Regions from separate parts of the Homo sapiens genome. Here regions 1, 2, 3, 4 and 5 are each linked to region 6. Evidence: promoter capture Hi-C in human tissues and cell types (Jung and others, 2019). All regions are on one chromosome and are shown on one strand. Each heading gives the region's core, a stretch centred on a gene start or on the middle of the fragment in contact. The rest is flanking DNA. Distances are from core to core; before and after follow the strand shown.

What was found. Contacts are between HindIII fragments. The study calls those that stand out against the background at their distance.
Region 1: a contact is called between a fragment that was not itself captured here and the fragment with the promoter of ACTL10 in region 6, in 1 of the 25 tissues and cell types used here (bladder).
Region 2: a fragment that was not itself captured here is called in contact with the fragment with the promoter of ACTL10 in region 6 in 1 of the 25 tissues and cell types used here (mesenchymal stem cells).
Region 3: a contact is called between a fragment that was not itself captured here and the fragment with the promoter of ACTL10 in region 6, in 2 of the 25 tissues and cell types used here (hippocampus and lymphoblastoid cells).
Region 4: a contact is called between a fragment that was not itself captured here and the fragment with the promoter of ACTL10 in region 6, in 1 of the 25 tissues and cell types used here (spleen).
Region 5: a fragment that was not itself captured here is called in contact with the fragment with the promoter of ACTL10 in region 6 in 1 of the 25 tissues and cell types used here (mesenchymal stem cells).

Annotation. Positions count from the first base shown.
Region 1 is chr20:33,257,239-33,260,252 of GRCh38, forward strand. LOC105372593 (a long non-coding RNA gene) reads right to left here and starts at 258. Exons shown (of 3, transcript XR_936683.2): 1 at 142-258. The HindIII fragment of the contact is 7,894 bases long and covers 1-3,014 here.
Region 2 is chr20:33,977,643-33,980,458 of GRCh38, forward strand. No RefSeq gene overlaps it. Among named protein-coding and RNA genes, the nearest start is that of RALY, 15 kb to the right of the region's middle. The HindIII fragment of the contact is 3,268 bases long and covers 1-2,816 here.
Region 3 is chr20:34,012,715-34,015,833 of GRCh38, forward strand. The region is part of intron 1 of RALY (RALY heterogeneous nuclear ribonucleoprotein); the gene reads left to right. Among named protein-coding and RNA genes, the nearest start is that of RALY-AS1, 20 kb to the left of the region's middle. The HindIII fragment of the contact is 5,750 bases long and covers 1-3,119 here.
Region 4 is chr20:33,349,713-33,352,412 of GRCh38, forward strand. It overlaps the pseudogene BPIFB9P. Among named protein-coding and RNA genes, the nearest start is that of CDK5RAP1, 50 kb to the right of the region's middle. RefSeq lists an enhancer at 1-346. The HindIII fragment of the contact is 4,703 bases long and covers 1-2,700 here.
Region 5 is chr20:34,056,200-34,058,899 of GRCh38, forward strand. All of the region lies in intron 2 of RALY (RALY heterogeneous nuclear ribonucleoprotein), which reads left to right. Among named protein-coding and RNA genes, the nearest start is that of MIR4755, 8.4 kb to the left of the region's middle. The HindIII fragment of the contact is 3,702 bases long and covers 1-2,700 here.
Region 6 is chr20:33,665,643-33,668,357 of GRCh38, forward strand. It overlaps ACTL10 (actin like 10), which reads left to right and starts at 1,301. Exons shown (of 1, transcript NM_001024675.2): 1 at 1,301-2,715. The coding sequence starts at 1,856. The coding sequence ends at 2,593. The region is part of intron 5 of NECAB3 (N-terminal EF-hand calcium binding protein 3); the gene reads right to left. RefSeq lists enhancers at 994-1,213, 2,024-2,103 and a silencer at 1,344-1,673. The HindIII fragment of the contact is 10,203 bases long and covers 1-2,715 here.

The sequences.
Region 1 (3,014 bases), core at 437-2,936, 410 kb before region 6:
CTGACAATTCTGAGTGATGGTGAAAACACAGAGCCAGTGAAACTCTCATACATTCCTGGTGGGAATGAAAAACAGTATGGCCCCTCTGGAAGACGGTATGGTAGTTTCTTAAAATGTTAAGCCGATAAGAGGCAGACACACCAATATCTCCCCTTGGAGGCCATGGAAAATGAGTCATGGACTCAGGTCATGTGGCAGCAGCTCCACTATCACCTCGCCCAGCTTCCCGAGGGTCAGCCTAGGGCCCAGCTCCGCAGAAGATCACAGCCCCTGCATGGCACTGCAGCCACCATAGGCCTCTGCCCAGCAACCATGGATCCCACAGCCATAGCATAGCAAAAACCAAAGAACACCCCAGCATTCCAAATGGAACCCAGCTATTAACTGGAAGCCTGGATTGGTCTCTTTTATGGTCAGTTAGAAAAGAAAATTTAGGTCAGGCGCAGTGGCTCATGCCTGTAATCCCAGCATTTTGGGAGGCCAAGGCGGGTGGATCACCTGAGGTCAGGAGTTCGAGACCAGCCTGGCCAACATGGTGAAATCACGTCTTTACTAAAAATACAAAAATTAGCCAGGCGTGGTGGTGGGCACCTGTAATCCCAGCTACTCGGGAGGCTGAGGCAGAAGAATCGCTTGAACTCAGGAAGCGGAATTCCTCAGTTGCAGTGAGCTGAAATCACACCATTGCACTCCAGCCTGGGTGACAACAGTGAAACTTTGTCTCAAAAAAAAAAAAAAAAAAAGGAAAGGAAAGGAAAGAAGAAAATTTATAAATAAAATATGTTTTGTCCATTACTGCTAATGATCATTCTTCTTTTCCTTTCTCACTGTTTTTGTAACTATATAAAATTAAAATGTAGTAAAATGTGCACATGTTAAATGCATGGCTTTATAGAGTTTTAAACTTTATATTCCTTATAGTATACCACAGCCTTATCAATATATAGATCATGTCTATTAACACATAAAATATTTCCTTGTGGCCAGGTGCTGTGGCGCATGCTTGCAGTCCCAGCGCTTTGGGAGGCCGAGGTGGGCAGGTCACTTGAGGTCAGGAGTTCAAGACCAGCCTGGCCAACATGGCAAAACCCCATCACTGCTAAAAATACAAAAATTAGCCAAGCATGGTGGCAAACACCTGTAGTCCCAGCTACTCGGGAGGCTGAGGCACAAGAATCACTTGAACCTGGGAGGCAGACGCTGCAGTGAGCTGAGATTGCACCACTGCACTCCAGCCTGGGTGACACAGTGAGACTCTGTCACAAAGAAAACAAAAAAAAACTCCTTGTAACGTTTTAACCAATACCCACTCACTCTACCATATGCAGCCCCTGTTTTGATTTCTAGTAACATACATTATTTTAGCCATTTCTTCAACTTCATAAAAATTAATCACAATGTATACTTGGAAAAAAATGTTAAACATACACTTAACATATGACCCAGCAACCCTACTTCTAGATTTTTAGGCTAGAGGAATGAAATATGCTCACAACAAAACCTGTTCCTTCATGTTTGGGGATTTTTTTTTGGCGGCGGGGGGCGGGGGGGGGGCATTTGGTTTTGCGTGTGTGTGTCAGAGTCTCATTCTGTTGCCCAGGCTAGAGTGCAGTGGCATGATCTTGGCTCACTGCAACCTCCGCCTCCCAGGTTCAAGTGATTCTCATGCCTCAGCCTCCCGAGTAGCTGGAATTACAGATGCACGTGACCATAGCCAGCTACTTCTTCTGTATTTTTAGTAGAGACAGGGTTTCACTATGTTGGCCAGGCTGGTCTTAAACTCCTGACCTCAAGTGATCTACCCACCTTGGCCTCCTAAAGTGCTGGGATTACAAGCGTGAGCCAATGCGCCTGGCCGTGTTCCTTAATGTTTATAGCAAATTTGTTCATAATATCCCAAAACTGGAAACAACCCAAATGCCTTTCATTAGGTGAATAAACAAACTTCAGTACATCTATACCACAGAATACTACTGGGCAATGAAGAGGAACAGATATTGGTTTACACAACAACTTGAATGAAGTTAGGAAGAGGATCCGAATTCTCATTGTCTGCCTGAGGGATGATTTGATAGGTATCAAAGGTCAAGACATGCCATTATAAAGCAGGAAGAAGATATGAATTTTTATTTGTTTAAAGCTCAAGTTTGTGATGCAGATAAATTCTGAAAAATATAAAAGGAATAAAAACCCAGGAAACTCACTTATAGATCATTCATACTTTAAATTATGACTTCCTTCCCAATGTCCCTGCCACTATTGTTTTCAGAACCCTCAGAGAGCTTTCTCATTCACTGTGTCCAGGGTTTTTGTTTCATTCAGTAGGAAATACAGAGTGGAACGGCTTACTCCATCCATTTCCACTCTCCCGTTTGTAAAACGAGCTGGATTACGGCAGATGAGGGTGGACCTCCAGAAATTTAACACAGTGCGTTGACTGTTGTAGTATCTTTACTGGAACAGCCCAATGCAGCCTTAGGTACTTACTATGGAGCTTTTAATCTGGAAAATGTGTTCTTTTCAATACTCAAGGTAACAAGCTCAGAAGCAAATGGCACTCACTTGGGATAAATAACGGTACACACTCAGTCTTGCCCCTGCTCTCTCTTGTTCTTAAAACAAGTTATCCATGGCTGGGCACAGTGGCTCTCACCTGTAATCCCAGCACTTTGGGAGGCTGAGGTGGGTTGATCGCTTTGAGCTCAGGAGTTTGAGACCAGCCTGGGCAACATAATGAAACCTCGTCTCTACTGAAAATACAAAAATTAGCTGGGCGTGGTCCTAGCTACTCAGGAAGCTGAGGCATGAGAATTGCTTGAACCCAGGAGGCGGAGTTTGCAGTGAGCCAAGATTGCACCACTGCACTCCAGCCTAGGTGACAGAGTGAGACCCTGTCTCAAAAAAAAAAAAAAAAAAAAAAAAAAAAAGCTATCCATTTGTAAATTGCTGATTTCTTTAGGGCATTGGCTCCATAAACTTTTCATAAAGCCTCAATGATTTCACCATTCACCCAT
Region 2 (2,816 bases), core at 177-2,676, 310 kb after region 6:
TTTTCTGCTACTATAACAGAACACCACAGGCTAGGTAATCTATAAAGAACAGAAGTTTATTTGGCTCATCGTTCTGGAGGCTGGGAAGTCCAAGAACATTGCATTAGCATCTGGTGAGGGTCTTCCCATGGTGGAAGGGCAGAAGGTGGAAGCTAGTGCACAAGACAGAGAGAGGATATCGGGCTAAACTCTTTCTTTTATCAGGAGCCCACTCCCATGAAAATTAACCCACTCCCTCAAGCCCTCATGACCTAGTCACCTCTTAAAGGCCCCACTACCCAATACCATCACATTGGTAAATAAATTTCAACATGAGTTTTGGAAGGGACATTCAAACCATAGCAAGGAATATTTATTTTCCATGTTATCTGTGTCTGTAACATTAGTGTTTTTAAGTAACAACCAGGTATTGCTTTTGTCATTAAAAAAAGAAAGATAGCTCTGACACATACTAAAATGTTTATGAATGAAAAAATGTGATTTCTGAGATTTGCTTCAAAATAATGTGGGAATAAAGAAATGAGTGTAGGTAGAGACTAGCCATAAATTGATAAACACTGAAGTTGGATGATGGGCAAATGGGAATTTGATATATTATTTCCTCTGCTTTTGTATATACTTGAAATTTTCCATAATAAAAATATTTTAAAAGGAAGTAATTTTATAGACACAGATATGAAGAGAGAGCCACACTGTAGTTTTTAAAAGAAACAGCATTGTATGTATGATATTGCATCTGTGTGCAATGATACTTGTGTCTCTCTCTATATTGGTATACATGTAAAAAAAAAAGACTTAGTTCAAGTAATAATAACAAGCAAGTTTACTGAACACTTGTGAGGGTATCAGGCAGCATCTTAAGTATAGAAATCTCTATTTTCTTTTTTTTCAAAATGATATATTTAAGGCTGAGCGCAGTGATGCGCACCTGTAATCCCAGCACTTTGGGAGGCCGAGGAGGGCAGATCACCTGAGGCCAGGAGTTCGAGACCAGCCTGGCCAACATGGTGAAACCCCGTCTCTACTAAAAATACAAAAATTGTAATCTCAGCTACTCAGGAGGCGGAGGCAACAAAAAGATATATTTAAAGCCACTACCTGCAGGTCTTTTGGAAATTTAAGTTTTTGCTAGCCCAGTAAATTTTTTGACATTCTTCCCATAAAAGGGTGGTGTCATGTGCCTTCCTTTTGAACCTGGATGGGCTTCTGTTTTGACCAACAGAGTACAACAGAAATCCCACCTACCTAATGTTCACACCCTGGCTCTACCACTTGCTAATTGTGACCTGTGGCACAATATGACCTTTACGGCTCTATACCTCCTTTTCCACCTCTGTATAATGAGGATAATCATAAATACCTCATAGGATCATTGTGAAGATTAGATGAGTTGTATGTGAAATTCACAGAACAATTTCTGGGCAGGTAGTAATTACTAAATAAATCTTTTCTTCATTAACAACAACAACAACAACAACAAGAAAGAGTATAGCAGAAATGATGCAGTGTGATTTCAGAGGCTGAGTCGTAAAATACCATGCAGCTGCTGCCTTGTTCACTGAAATACTTACTCACAGGTTCCTGAGCCACTATGTAAGGAGTTTAACTACCCTGTGGCTGTCATGCTAGGAGGAAGCCCAAGCCACACGGAGAAGCTATGTGTAGGTATTGTGATCTACAGTCCCCACTGTGCCCAACCTTTGAGTCATCCCAGCCCAGGCACCAGACAGGTGAGCACAGAAGTCTTCAGATGATTCTAGTCCTCAACCCTGGGAGTCTTCCTCAATAAGGCCCTAAACATCATGGAGCAGAAATAAATTATCCCTATGGTGCCCTGTGTGAATTCCTGATCCTCATAATCTGTGACCAGAATACAGTTGTTTTTGTTTTATATCACTAAGTCAGATGGTTTGTTATACACAATAGATAACTGGAACATACGGACTTTCAATTGTATGAGATAATTACATTTGGTTCTTATGGTTGAAATCACTGTAAAGAGCATTTTTGTCCTTACTCGCAGTTAATCACAGTCTTACACTGTAGTCTTGTTTACTTATATTTTTAAGTTAATCTATTCTTTTGGTTTAAATATGTCTTTAAGGAGAAAAAAGAGTATTTTTGTAACGCATAGTAGAAACAATTGCTATGAAAATTTTAAATCATGCTTTCCCATATATCATTTTAAATCATCTTGTGGCTCACCAGGGACATATCCCACCTTCTAGGAATTACTGCATTAAGCTTTCTTCTGATCACAAAGGTTTCTCCTAACTTTTACATTTGAGAATGTATGAGGTTCCCTTCCCCAGGTTGTCATTGCATGTTGCCCCAGGACACCCTCTCTCTGAAGGAGTTCGCAGACAGAGTTCCCGTGCAGTGCATGAGACAGTTAACATTCATGGGAGGTGACCCACATCAGGAACTGTGAAGGGTCTGAGATTTTACCCTACTTACAAACTCATCAGCTAGATTATTTCCTGAATGCTGGCAGAAGACATAGACTCCTGGGTCAGAGATAAGAAACTGTATTACTTACAGAGAAAGTAGATGCTGACTTCAGGCTTACCCTGATTCCCCAAACCTCTGAAGTCCTGAGGATGTGATGCAGGTGGGCCTGCTCACACAGAGTTGTGTCACAGGAGAGGAATACTGAGCTAAGAGAAACTATTGCTTTTACAGTGAGCAGTCACAAACCTTCCCTTTGAAGACATGACTTCATCCCTCAAGGTTGTTTTCTGCAAACACAACCCTGAGAAATGGCCTGAGTAAAGGGCAATCAGGGTCTTGCCTTCCTGGTGCACCAGCAAGAACAT
Region 3 (3,119 bases), core at 554-3,053, 350 kb after region 6:
ACCCCAAGTCATAAAGGATAAAATCTAAACTCTGGCCTTGGCCGCAAGGCTCATGCAGTCTGGTGCCATATCACTTTGCTGCCTTTTGTCAGCAGCATAGTGCTTAATACCCACTGTTTCCCTGTGTTTCTGCCCAGTAGAAGGTTCCCTGGATGTGCCAGGCTGTATCATGACTTTGTTTTGACTACAGATAGTCCCTGGTTTACAGTTTGACTTACTGATTTTTTGACTTTATGTTGGTTACAAAAGTGATATGCATTCAGTAGAAACGGTACTTGGACTACTCATACAGCTAGTCTGTTTTCACTTTCAGTAAAGTATTCAATAAATTATGTGAGATATTCAACACTGTATTATAAAATAGGCTTTGTGTTAGTTGATTTTGCTCACCTGAAGGCTAGTGTTAATGTTCTGCGCATATTCAAGGTAGGCTAAACTAAACTAGGGTGTTTGGTAAGTTAGGTGTATTAAATGCATTTTCCCAGCCTGGGCAACATAGACTTCATCTCTTTTTTAAAACAAACAAACAAACAAAATAAAAAAAAAAACTAGCTCGCATAATGGGGCATTCCTGTAGTCTCAGCAGCTACTTGGGAGGCTGGGGTGGGAAGATCGCTTGAGCCTAGGAGGTTGAGGCTGTAGTAAGCCTTGATTGTGTTACTATACTCCAGCTTAGGCATCAGAACGAGACCTTGTCTCAAAAAAAAAAAAAAAAAAAAAAAGGCATTTCGACTTACAGTATTTTCAGCTTACAAGGGGCTTATTGGGATGTAACCCTGTTGTAAATTGAGCAGCATCTGTATTTCCCCTAAGTAGAAATCCCCTTATCTTCTTATCCCCTTTACCTGACAGACTCCTGTTTATCTTTCATATCAATTCCAATGCCACTTCCTCAGGGAAGCTTTCCCTGATCACTACAGAAGCAGAATTAATTTTGATCAAATAAAATACAGGATTTATAGCAGGCCCTTTGACTTCTAGGACTGCTGTAGTTGTACTCTAGTGCTGTGTCACACCCAAATCCTCTCTCATTCATTGGATCGAGACAGTATAGGCCAGGGGATAGTGTGCTACTTATCTCTATTTCCCTTGTGTCTCTGAAATAGGCTTGGCACAAATAGTACTTACAAAATGAATGATGGAAATGTGTATGCATTGATACTTATAGTATAGTTTGGTGTTGAGTGCTACAGATGAAATATGACAGTGCGCTTTAAAGAAGAGGCTTAATTTGGGGGTGACTAAAATAAAAAATTATTGACTTGAGGGTCTCTGTTTTGCAAGAATACATAATTAGCTTAAATAAGCAGCAAAAGGTTAGTTTTAATTATGTAGCTTCTGTTAATATTAAGTGTTTTTTGTCTGTTTTACCTCAATTTGAACAGATTAAGTTTGCGTGCATGCTGGACATGCCTCAGAACACATGAGTAGCCCGTACTAGATCTTGGGAACGTGGATCTTAGAGTCACTTTGGAATAAGTTCTTATATAAATACCCCCAGCCTTTTGAGAACGGGGCTTGTTAAAGGACGCGTATGTAGGGCCAGTACCTACTGGCAGTTGGATTCAGGGAAATGGGATTGACTTGGCCTTTGGTCCTTTGGTCATAATTTTAAAATATGGGAGTAGAAAACAACAAAGAATGGAATGGATGCTTAAAACAATGAAAGAGCATTTATCATTTGTCTCTTGAATGTAGAGTTTGTTTTTGATTTCATAATTCTGCGGGTAAACGTGACAGTTAAAGTGGTGGATTATGTATATGTATTATAATTTAGAAATTCCATTTTATAATTTTACTATTCCAAGGTGAAATAATGCATTTAAATTTGGGATTTGGGTGGAGTATTATGTTTAACTGGAGTTGTTGTCAAGTATGAATCCCTCAGGGAAAAAAAATTCTGTTTTAAAAAGCAGTCTGATTCTTAGCTCTTGAAACTATTGTTACTTAAATTTCCAATAATTAAAAATTAAAAATTTTAAAATTAGAATTGCCAATACTTTGACCTTTGAGAAGGGTTTCTTAGAAATACATTTAGTAATGTCCCCAAGACATTAGTCTTACATTTAAACTTTTTTCTTTAAAACATGGTATTGGTTGTTAACCTTTACACAGTTCTGAGTACTGTTAATATCTGGAAAGTATCTTGAGATATCAGTGGAAAGCTAAACAGTCTAAATTTAACATGAAATACTTCTTTATGATTCAGAAAATAAAATCAGATTTTTTCAAAGTCAAAAAAAGAAATGTGACAAAGTGCTCTGGAAATTTACTGGAATTCTTGAGAGAGAACTAACTGGAAGAAATCTTGGAAGCTTCTAGAAGCTGGTAGCATTTGAGCTTGTCCTTAAAGATTCAGGAGTTCAGTTGGCAGAGATGGTGGGAAGAACATTCTAGATGGAAGGAATGGTAGGAGTAAAAGTAATGAGGAAGTACGGAAGCCAGGCCCTACCTACTAATCCACCTGTCCCCCTTATTCAGAATTTCTGCCAAATGTGTGCTAAATCTCTGTGGGCCAGCCTAAAGGATATTTACTTTTCTTCCTATTCTTTCCTTCCCTTCTTCCTACCTCTTTTGTCCTTTTTGCCTTTTATTTTTTGTTTCTTCTCAATATTTCCCCCTTTTTTTTTAAATCTCCCCCTTTCTCCAGTCCTTCATAAAAAAACAAAAAAGCAAAAAACTTTATTTACCTTTCTCTACCTACTTCTTTTTTGCACTTTTCCTAGGTAACCCAAGAAATCCAAGTCTTTGGGTGGAGATGTGAATCAGCCATACAATGTTTAACTCCAAATAACACCTCCCCTTGTGAAGCTGAGAAGTAATTGAGGCATAATTGCTTCTCATCTGTCTCTTGTGTTTTATTGGCATAGACTTTTTTTTTTTTAACCTCCCACAGTGCTGGGGGTGTCATTATCATTTTATTTTTCGTAGTTGTCAAAATGTCAATTTTAATGAGAAATTTCTGCAGATAGGTTTGCCCTTGAGTGGTAGGAGCCTTCAGGCAAAGCCAGGGCTAGATGAGTCAGGAATGTTCATGGATCTGTTTTCTCATGCATACAGGTGTATAGGCCACACAGAGGCAGACACCTACTTTTCCCCATCCCTACAGGCTCAATGCT
Region 4 (2,700 bases), core at 76-2,575, 320 kb before region 6:
CCTCAAAGAGTCTGCTCAGGGCGTGCTGAACAGCACCCTGCCCTCAGGCATCAGCGATGCACTCCCAGACCTGCTGAAAAATGCTGACCTGGAACAGCTCTTGCTGGGGTAAGTGCTTCCTTGACCCTATGTATGACTTCTCCACCAGAAACCTGCTGATTTGGATGCTCATGTTCAACTTCCAACAGTCCCACGGATTGGGATGGGTATATTGCTTGAGATTGATATATTTCACCAGAAATATTCTCGCTCTATGCTGTGCCTATATCCTTTCAGGGGGAAACAGGATCAAGATTTTTGAGCTTATAGGCCTGGGCACATTAGACAGCTGAGGGGTCAAGGGACTGGATGGTGGCTTGGTAGGCTGTTAATTATCTGCTTCAAAGGCATTTCTCCTGCTGTCCAGGCTGATTCGTTGAAACAGGACTGACTCTTGATGCTTTCGCTTTGCAGATTACAGGTTGAAAAAGTAACTGTGGAGAGCATGAAGTCAACCACGACAGGCGATGGGATCCATGTCCAAGCCACGACTACGGCCTTCATAGGTGGAAAAGGGTGAGTCTGTGCACACAGCAGTCCACTGGGTCCCCCTGCCCCAGGGTTGTAACATCCAGTGAGCAAAGACCAGGTAGAGACAACAGAGAGGACAGCAGCATGGGTGAGGATGGGGCAAAGCGGGCACTGCACACAGCTGCCCCTCTCCCCAAGTACAGGTGGGCAAGGCAAGAGAATGGTCCAGGGAGCCTCATCCTCCAATAATGTGAACAAAAATGTTGACGGGCTGGGTGTGGTGGCTCACGCCTGTAATCCCAGCACTTGGGGAGGCCTAGGCGGGCGGATTACGAGGTCAGGAGATCGAGCCCATCCTGGATAACACAGTGAAACCCCGTCTCTACTAAAAATACAAAAAAATAGCTGGGCGTGGTGGCGGGCGCCTGTAGTCCCAGCTACTCGGGAGGCTGAGGCAGGAGAATGGCGTGAACCTGGGAGGCGGAGGTTGCAGTGAGCCGAGATCACGCCACTGCACTCCAGTCTCGGTGACAGAGCGAGACTCCATCTCAAAAAAAAAAAAAAAAAGAAAATGACAGGACCCACTCACCCCACCCACCCCACTAAGCCACTAGGGAAGGCAAAACTAGGTCATGAAAAGTGCTGAAAGAGGCAAGGTTTTAGACTCAGTTAGTTTCACTTACAGGAATCTGTCCAAAAAACCTAAGTACAGATACATTTAAACACAAAGACATAGGGGTATTCATGATGGGAATTTAAAAAACAAAAAACCTGAAACAAAAAGCAAATAATTAAACCAAGTACAAGATTAGAAATGCTGACAACATTTATAATGGTATACAGAAATGCTTGTGAAGTTGTTTTTTTTTTGTTTTGTTTTTGAGACAAGGTCTCACTCTGTCACCGGGGCTGGAGTGCAGAGGCACAATCACAGCTCACTGCAGCCTGGATCTCCTAGGTTCAGGTGATCCTCCCACCTCAGCCTCTCAAGTAGTTGGGACCACAGGTGTGTGCCAAGGTGCTCAGCTAACTTCTTTTTTTTTTTTTAATTTTTTGTGGAGACCAGGTCTTGCTATGTTGCTCAGGCTGCTCTCAAACTCCTGGGCTCAAGCAATCCTCCTGCCTGGGCCTCCCAAAGTGCTGGGATTACAGGTGTGAGCCACCACGCCCAGCTATTGTTAGTTTTATTTTATTTTATTTTGAGATGGAGTCTCATTCTGTCGCCCAGGCTGGAGTGCAGTGGCGTGATCTTGGCTCACTGCAACCTCTGCCTCCTGGATTCAAATGATTTTTCTGCCTCAGCCTCCCGAGTAGCTGGGACTACAGGTGCACACCACCACACCTGGCTAATTTCTCTGTTGTTGTAGTAAAGATGGGGTTTCTCCATGTTCATCAGGCTGGTCTCAAACTCCTGACCTCAAATGATCTGCATGCCTCGGCCTCCCAAAGTGCTGGGATTACACGTGTGCACCACCATGCCCAGCTATTGTTGGTTTTTAAACTAACAATAGCAAAGTTTACTTTGCTGAAACTTCTAACTTTCCTGCTCTGTGGAGTTTGCATTTCATAAGCAGGGGGAAATGCATATTAACCAATGAAGGTCAGAATATCCATGAAAGGAAATTACAGACAAGATGGGCTTTGGAATGTGGGAAGGAATGAGGGCCTGCCAGGCTGACAGCGCATGTACAGGAAGGTAAGGAATGTGACTGTTGGCCAGGCGAGGTGGCTCACACCTAGAATCCCAGCACTTTGGGAGGCCAAGGTGAGTGGGTCGCTTGAATCCAGGAGTTGGAAACCAGCCTGAGCAACATGACAAAATCCTGTCCCTACAAAAAATCCAAAAATCAGCCAGGCATGGTGGCATGTGCCTGTAGTCCTAGCTGCTAGGGAGGCTGAGGTGGAAGGATCACTTGGATAGGAGGAGGCAGAGGTTGCAGTGAGCCGAGATTGCACCGCTGCACTCCAGCCTGGCAACAGAGTGAGACTCTGTCTCAAAAAAAAAAAAAAGTGACACAGATACACACACACACACACACACACACACCTTACTGGTAGAAACACTTAAACAAGGGCCATTCACCTGAAAAATAATGAATGTGGCTTCTCCTGGAAAGTCAGAGATCTGGGTGCCCTGAGCCTAACTGCATGGGGTCCACGGGCAGCCGGAGCTCAGCAGCAGCTCCTCCT
Region 5 (2,700 bases), core at 105-2,604, 390 kb after region 6:
TTCATTAAATGTGGGATCTCTGTCAAACTTCTGTAACTTTCCTTATGCTATTTCCTCTTAAATGTACTCTCTTACCTGTGTGTGGGTTAACTTCAACTCATCCTTCAGGACAAGATTGGAACTTACTGTTGACTCTTCTTGTCTGAGTCGTCTCCCTTTCTTTCTGTCCCTTAGGTAATTGACATGCCTCCAAGTTCCTAGTTGCTCCTGTCATAGACCTCATCAAGATGAAACATAGGTTCTGGTTTTCTTGAGGTTTTCACCACTGACTGGACTATAAATTCTTCCAGGGGGGAGATTGTACTTTATTAACCTCTGTAGTTTTATACAGTGTCTGGCAGTAATAGGTGAACAATAAATGATTTTTTGATAAATGAGTAAATCTTTTTAGCATGTTATTCCTCTACCTAGGAACCTACAGTAACTTCATGGCACTCAAAACTTTGTAGACTCAAAAGCTAGTAAACACAGTAGACTATACATCTTCACATGTACATGAAAACAGTAATGAGGATTTGATTTTCCCTACTAATTCACCTCTACTCTCCCTACCCCACCACCTGCCCAATATGGTAATACATGGTGCTGCGAGGTTGCCATGAAAGTGGCATTCATTGGAGATAACAGTGTAAATTGGTGTAACTCTTTTGGAAAGCAGTTAAGCAATGTGTTGCCAGAGCCAATAAAATGTTCATATATTTGACCAGTCATTCCACTTCTGGGAGTCTGTCCTAAGGAAATAGTCTAGTTTATACAATAAGCTTTCCCTCAGATGCTATTGTTTATAATAGTGAGAAATTGGAAAAAGCCTAAAAGACCACCAATCTAAACTATGATAAATCTACTCAGGGAAAACCACGAGCTTTTAAAGCAGTAGTGTAAAAAATGATGCTTACCGAAAACTATGCGGCAGTAAGGACAAATATGCTATAATATATATAATAAATGTGTTATAATGCTAATTGAAAAAATTAGGCTACAGAGTTGAGTTATCTAACCATGTAATCCAAACATAATGTGCAAGAAAAACACTGGAAGGAAATACATGAACATGCTAACAGTTATGTCCCATAGAGGGGTGGGGGTTAGATGATTTCATATGGTAATTTCATATAATAAACATACTCAATATAATAGCACAAATTCTTACCCAAATTATTGGTTAAGAATTTTAAAATAATAAACCAGCCAGGTGTGGTGGCTCACGCCTGTAATCCCAGCACTTTGGGAGGCTGAGGCGGGCGGATCACGAGGTCAGGAGATCGAGACCATCCTGGCTAACACGGTGAAACCCTGTCTCTACTGAAAATACAAAAAATTAGCTGGGCATGGTGGCGGGCGCCTGTAGTCCCAGCTACTCTGGAGGCTGAGGCAGGAGAATGGCATGAACCTGGGAGGCGGAGCTTACAGTGAGCCGAGATGGCGCCACTGCACTCCAGCCTGGGCGACAGAGCGAGACTCCGTCTCAAAAAAAAAAAAAAAAAAACAACCTCTGATCTTACCCATTTTAAACAAAGAAATGATATGGTAATATTGCTGTGGTGACAGTAGAGGATTATTTAAAGAATGGTAATAAGAATGGAGAGAGGGGGGCTACATTCTAAAAATATTGAGGCCAAATGAGGAGGGCGTGGTGAATAACAGTATGTGGGGGAAATGTATATGCCTAATAGAGAACATTGGTTCATGGAGTTTAATGAGATGTCCAAGGTCACACAGCTAGTAAGTGGCTGATCCTGGATTTAAACCTTGTTCTGTCTCTGTCCAAAGCCATGCCCTTTCTCCTGCAGCTGAGACACCTATTACAGTTTTGGAGAAACTTTTTTTTTTTCTTTTAACCAGTTGCAGTGTAGAAGCTTGTTTAGTGTAGTGCCTCCTTTTTGAGGGGAAGGGGGCCGGGAAGGGTTAATTCTTTCTAAGACAATGACAAGGGGGAAAGACCATAGATACCAAAGCTGCTTCTGTCATGATCAGTTGAATTGATGAGTTTAGAAGTTCACTAGGCATTGGGTGTGTTATACCTGTCGTTTTGAGGGCTGTTTTTTGTGAAGTTGCAGGGGTTCATTGGTTGGCTTTCGTTTGATGCTTAGCTTATGGTAGCAGGGCATCTTGGACATAAGCGTGCATATGTATACCGTATTACATGCTAATGAACATTTTGTTCATTACACCAAGTTTATTAATGATGCTGCTGCTGTGGGAGTGAGAGAGGGGTCAGGGTGGCAGCTTCAAACAAGGGACAGTGTCTAAGCTGCTCTCTGAAAGGAACGGTTCACCTGAACCATACAATGCCCTATCCCCATACTTCTCAATGACTAATCCAAGAAAAGGTGATTTTGAACTTGAGTCTATCCTTTGGAGTATGATACTCATCCCTTCGGAAGAACCCATTTCACATTGACATGTTCACTCTCTGACCTTAGGCATGTTCTCTGCGCTAGGGTTTACTCTCTGCACTAGGGTTTGCCTAATAGAGAACATTGGCTCAATGAGTTTAATGAGATGTCCAAGGTCACACAACTAGTAAGTGCTGATCCTGGATTTAAACCCACTAGGGTTTACTCATTTATAAAGTGAATGACATATAACCACTCAGAGGATTGTTGTGTATAGATTTGGTAGCCTTAACTCATGAAGAGTCTTGTAAGCCACATTAAAGGATTTGAACTTGATTCTTTATGGTGGGAAGCCCTTGAAGGA
Region 6 (2,715 bases), core at 51-2,550:
AAACTGGTCCTCAGGAGGATGAGGCTTTGCAGAGACAAGAAGTGACCTCTTTCCTGTGTGGGGGGATTATTACTACCTTTTGGAGGAGAAAACCGAACCCAGAGAAAGATCAAGACTTGCTTAGGACTGCACAGTGAGTCAGCTTCAGAACTGAGTCTTGCTGGGTGCGGTGGCTCACACCTGTAATCCTAGCACTTTGGGAGTCCAAGGCAGGTGGATCACCTGAGGTCAGGAGTTCGAGACCAGCCTGGCCAACGTGGCGAAACCCTGTCTCCACTAAAAATACAAAAATTAGCCGCGTATGGTGGTGCATGCCTGTAGTCCCAGCTACTCAGGAGGCTGAGGCAGGAGAATCACTTGAACTCGGAAGGCAGAGGTTGCACTGAGCTGAGATTGCAACGCTGCACGCCCAGCCTGGGTGACCGAGACTCCGTCTCAAAAATAATAATAATAAAAAAAAGAACTGAGTCTCAAACTGAGGCCCACGTGAATCCATCCGTGGAAGCCCATAAAGGTAGGGCCAGAGCCTCTCGGGGGCTCTTCAGGGAAGCTGCAGATCTGTGATGAAAAAGCTTTTTCTTCAGCACTGGGAGGGGTAGGGGGCCACACATCTGGACAGAGTACATCAGATAATTCTAAGTGGTTTGGGAAAGGAATCAGACTGTGCTGGGCTGCTGAAGCCAGACCCCTGGATGCCAAAATCACTGCCCTTGGCTCTGTCCAGAAGAGAGGATGGGTCCAGGGAGTTGTCATAAGGTAGGGAGCTGCGAAGTGCAGCTGCTGGGGAGTGAGGTCACAATGAGCCCAATCCAAGTTCTTTTCTGCCTTCTGACCAGCCCCTCCCCTCTCCACAACCAGGAACTTCCGTCAAGCCCAGGTGAGAGGTGCCAGGAGGCTGCCTGGGTCCTCAAGGGGGATATATGTCCAAATGGCCTTACCACAAGGCCCCTTCGCCCTCAAAGTTCTGCTCCTCCCGGGGGCTTCTTAGGATCTAAAAGGATCAGTCCTAGCCATCTCGTCAGCCATCTCAGCAAGGGCTGACGGGGCGGAACAGCAAAGCAGAGGCGGGTCCTGAGAGCGTGGAGCCTGAAGCCCGGCGCCAGAGGGAGACCAAGAGGGTGAGATGCGGCTGGAACCCAGCCAGAGCGGAGACTGAAGCCTGAACTAGGGGCCGGGCCTCAGGCCTAGGAACTAGCCACGAGCTGAAAAGGAGGCGGATGGCCCGGACAGAAGAGGCGGGGCTTTCAGACCAGAGGGCGGAGCCAAGAGCTGAAAAGGGTGGTGATTTGGTCCAGAAGAGGAAGAACTTAGGCTCCGGAGGCAGAGCCAAAGGCTGAAGGGGACTACTCCCTAGGACAGAGGCCGGGAGGTATCGGGCCGACGAAGCCGAGTGGCGCGGAGGAGCGGAGCCTTCAGCCCCGCGGCTGGGCCGAGCCCGAAGGTGGCGTCGGTGTCGGGGAGCCGCCGCGTGCACCGGCCGTCCTCCCTGGGCCGCATCGCGGTGGTGGTGGACCAGGGCTCGGGCTTCACCAAGGCGGGCTTCGCGGGCGAGAACCAGCCGCGCATAGTGCTGAAGAGCTCTAGCTTGGTGCCCAGCTGGGACCGGCCGGTGCTGCCCGGAGCGCCGGGCTGCGAGCTGGCGGGCGGCGTGGCGCGGGCGCACCCCATCAAGCACGGCGTGGTGGCGGACTGGGAGGCGCTGGAAGGGCTGTGGGAGCGCCTGCTGGTGGGCGGCCTGCGGGTGTGCCCAGAGCAGTGGCCCGTGCTGGTGAGCGACTCGCCGTTGGCGCCGCCCGCGGGCCGCGAAAGGGTGGCGGAGCTGCTGTTCGAGACCCTGGCAGTGCCCGCGTGCCACATGGCTAGCACCGCGTTGCTGGCGCTCTGCTCCACCGGCGCGTTCAGCGGGCTGGCCGTGGAGGCGGGCGCGGGCGTGTGCCACGCCACGCCCATCTACGCGGGTCACTCGTGGCACCAGGCCACCTTCCGACTGAACGTGGCAGGCAGCACCCTGTCGCGCTACCTGCGGGATCTGCTGGTGGCGGCGAACCCTGACCTCTTGCAGCAGGCCCTGCCCCGCAAGGCCATCACACATCTCAAGAAGCGCAGCTGCTACGTGTCCCTGGACTTCGAGGGCGACCTCCGCGACCCCGCCCGCCACCATCCGGCCAGTTTCAGCGTGGGTAACGGGTGCTGCGTCTGCCTCAGCAGTGAGCGCTTCCGCTGCCCCGAACCCATCTTCCAGCCGGGCCTGCTGGGCCAGGCTGAGCAGGGGCTGCCCGCGCTGGCCTTCCGGGCGCTGCAGAAGATGCCCAAAACGCTGCGGACACGCCTGGCAGACACCGTGGTGCTAGCCGGCGGCTCCACACTGTTTCCTGGCTTCGCCGAGCGCCTGGACAAGGAGCTGGAGGCGCAGTGCCGGCGGCACGGCTACGCGGCCCTGCGGCCCCACCTGGTGGCCAAGCATGGGCGTGGCATGGCTGTGTGGACCGGCGGCTCCATGGTGGCCTCCCTGCACTCCTTCCAGCGCCGCTGGATAACTCGGGCCATGTACCAGGAGTGTGGCTCCAGGCTGCTGTACGATGTGTTCAACTGAGTCAGGCTGGACTGGGGGGGGTGGCACTGCGTTGGGGGACAGCTCTCTATCTAAAGAGTCAAGTGTTTGGAGCTGGCAGGGTCCTCCTGGAGGTTGGAGCTGACTGGATGGGTCACCCCCAT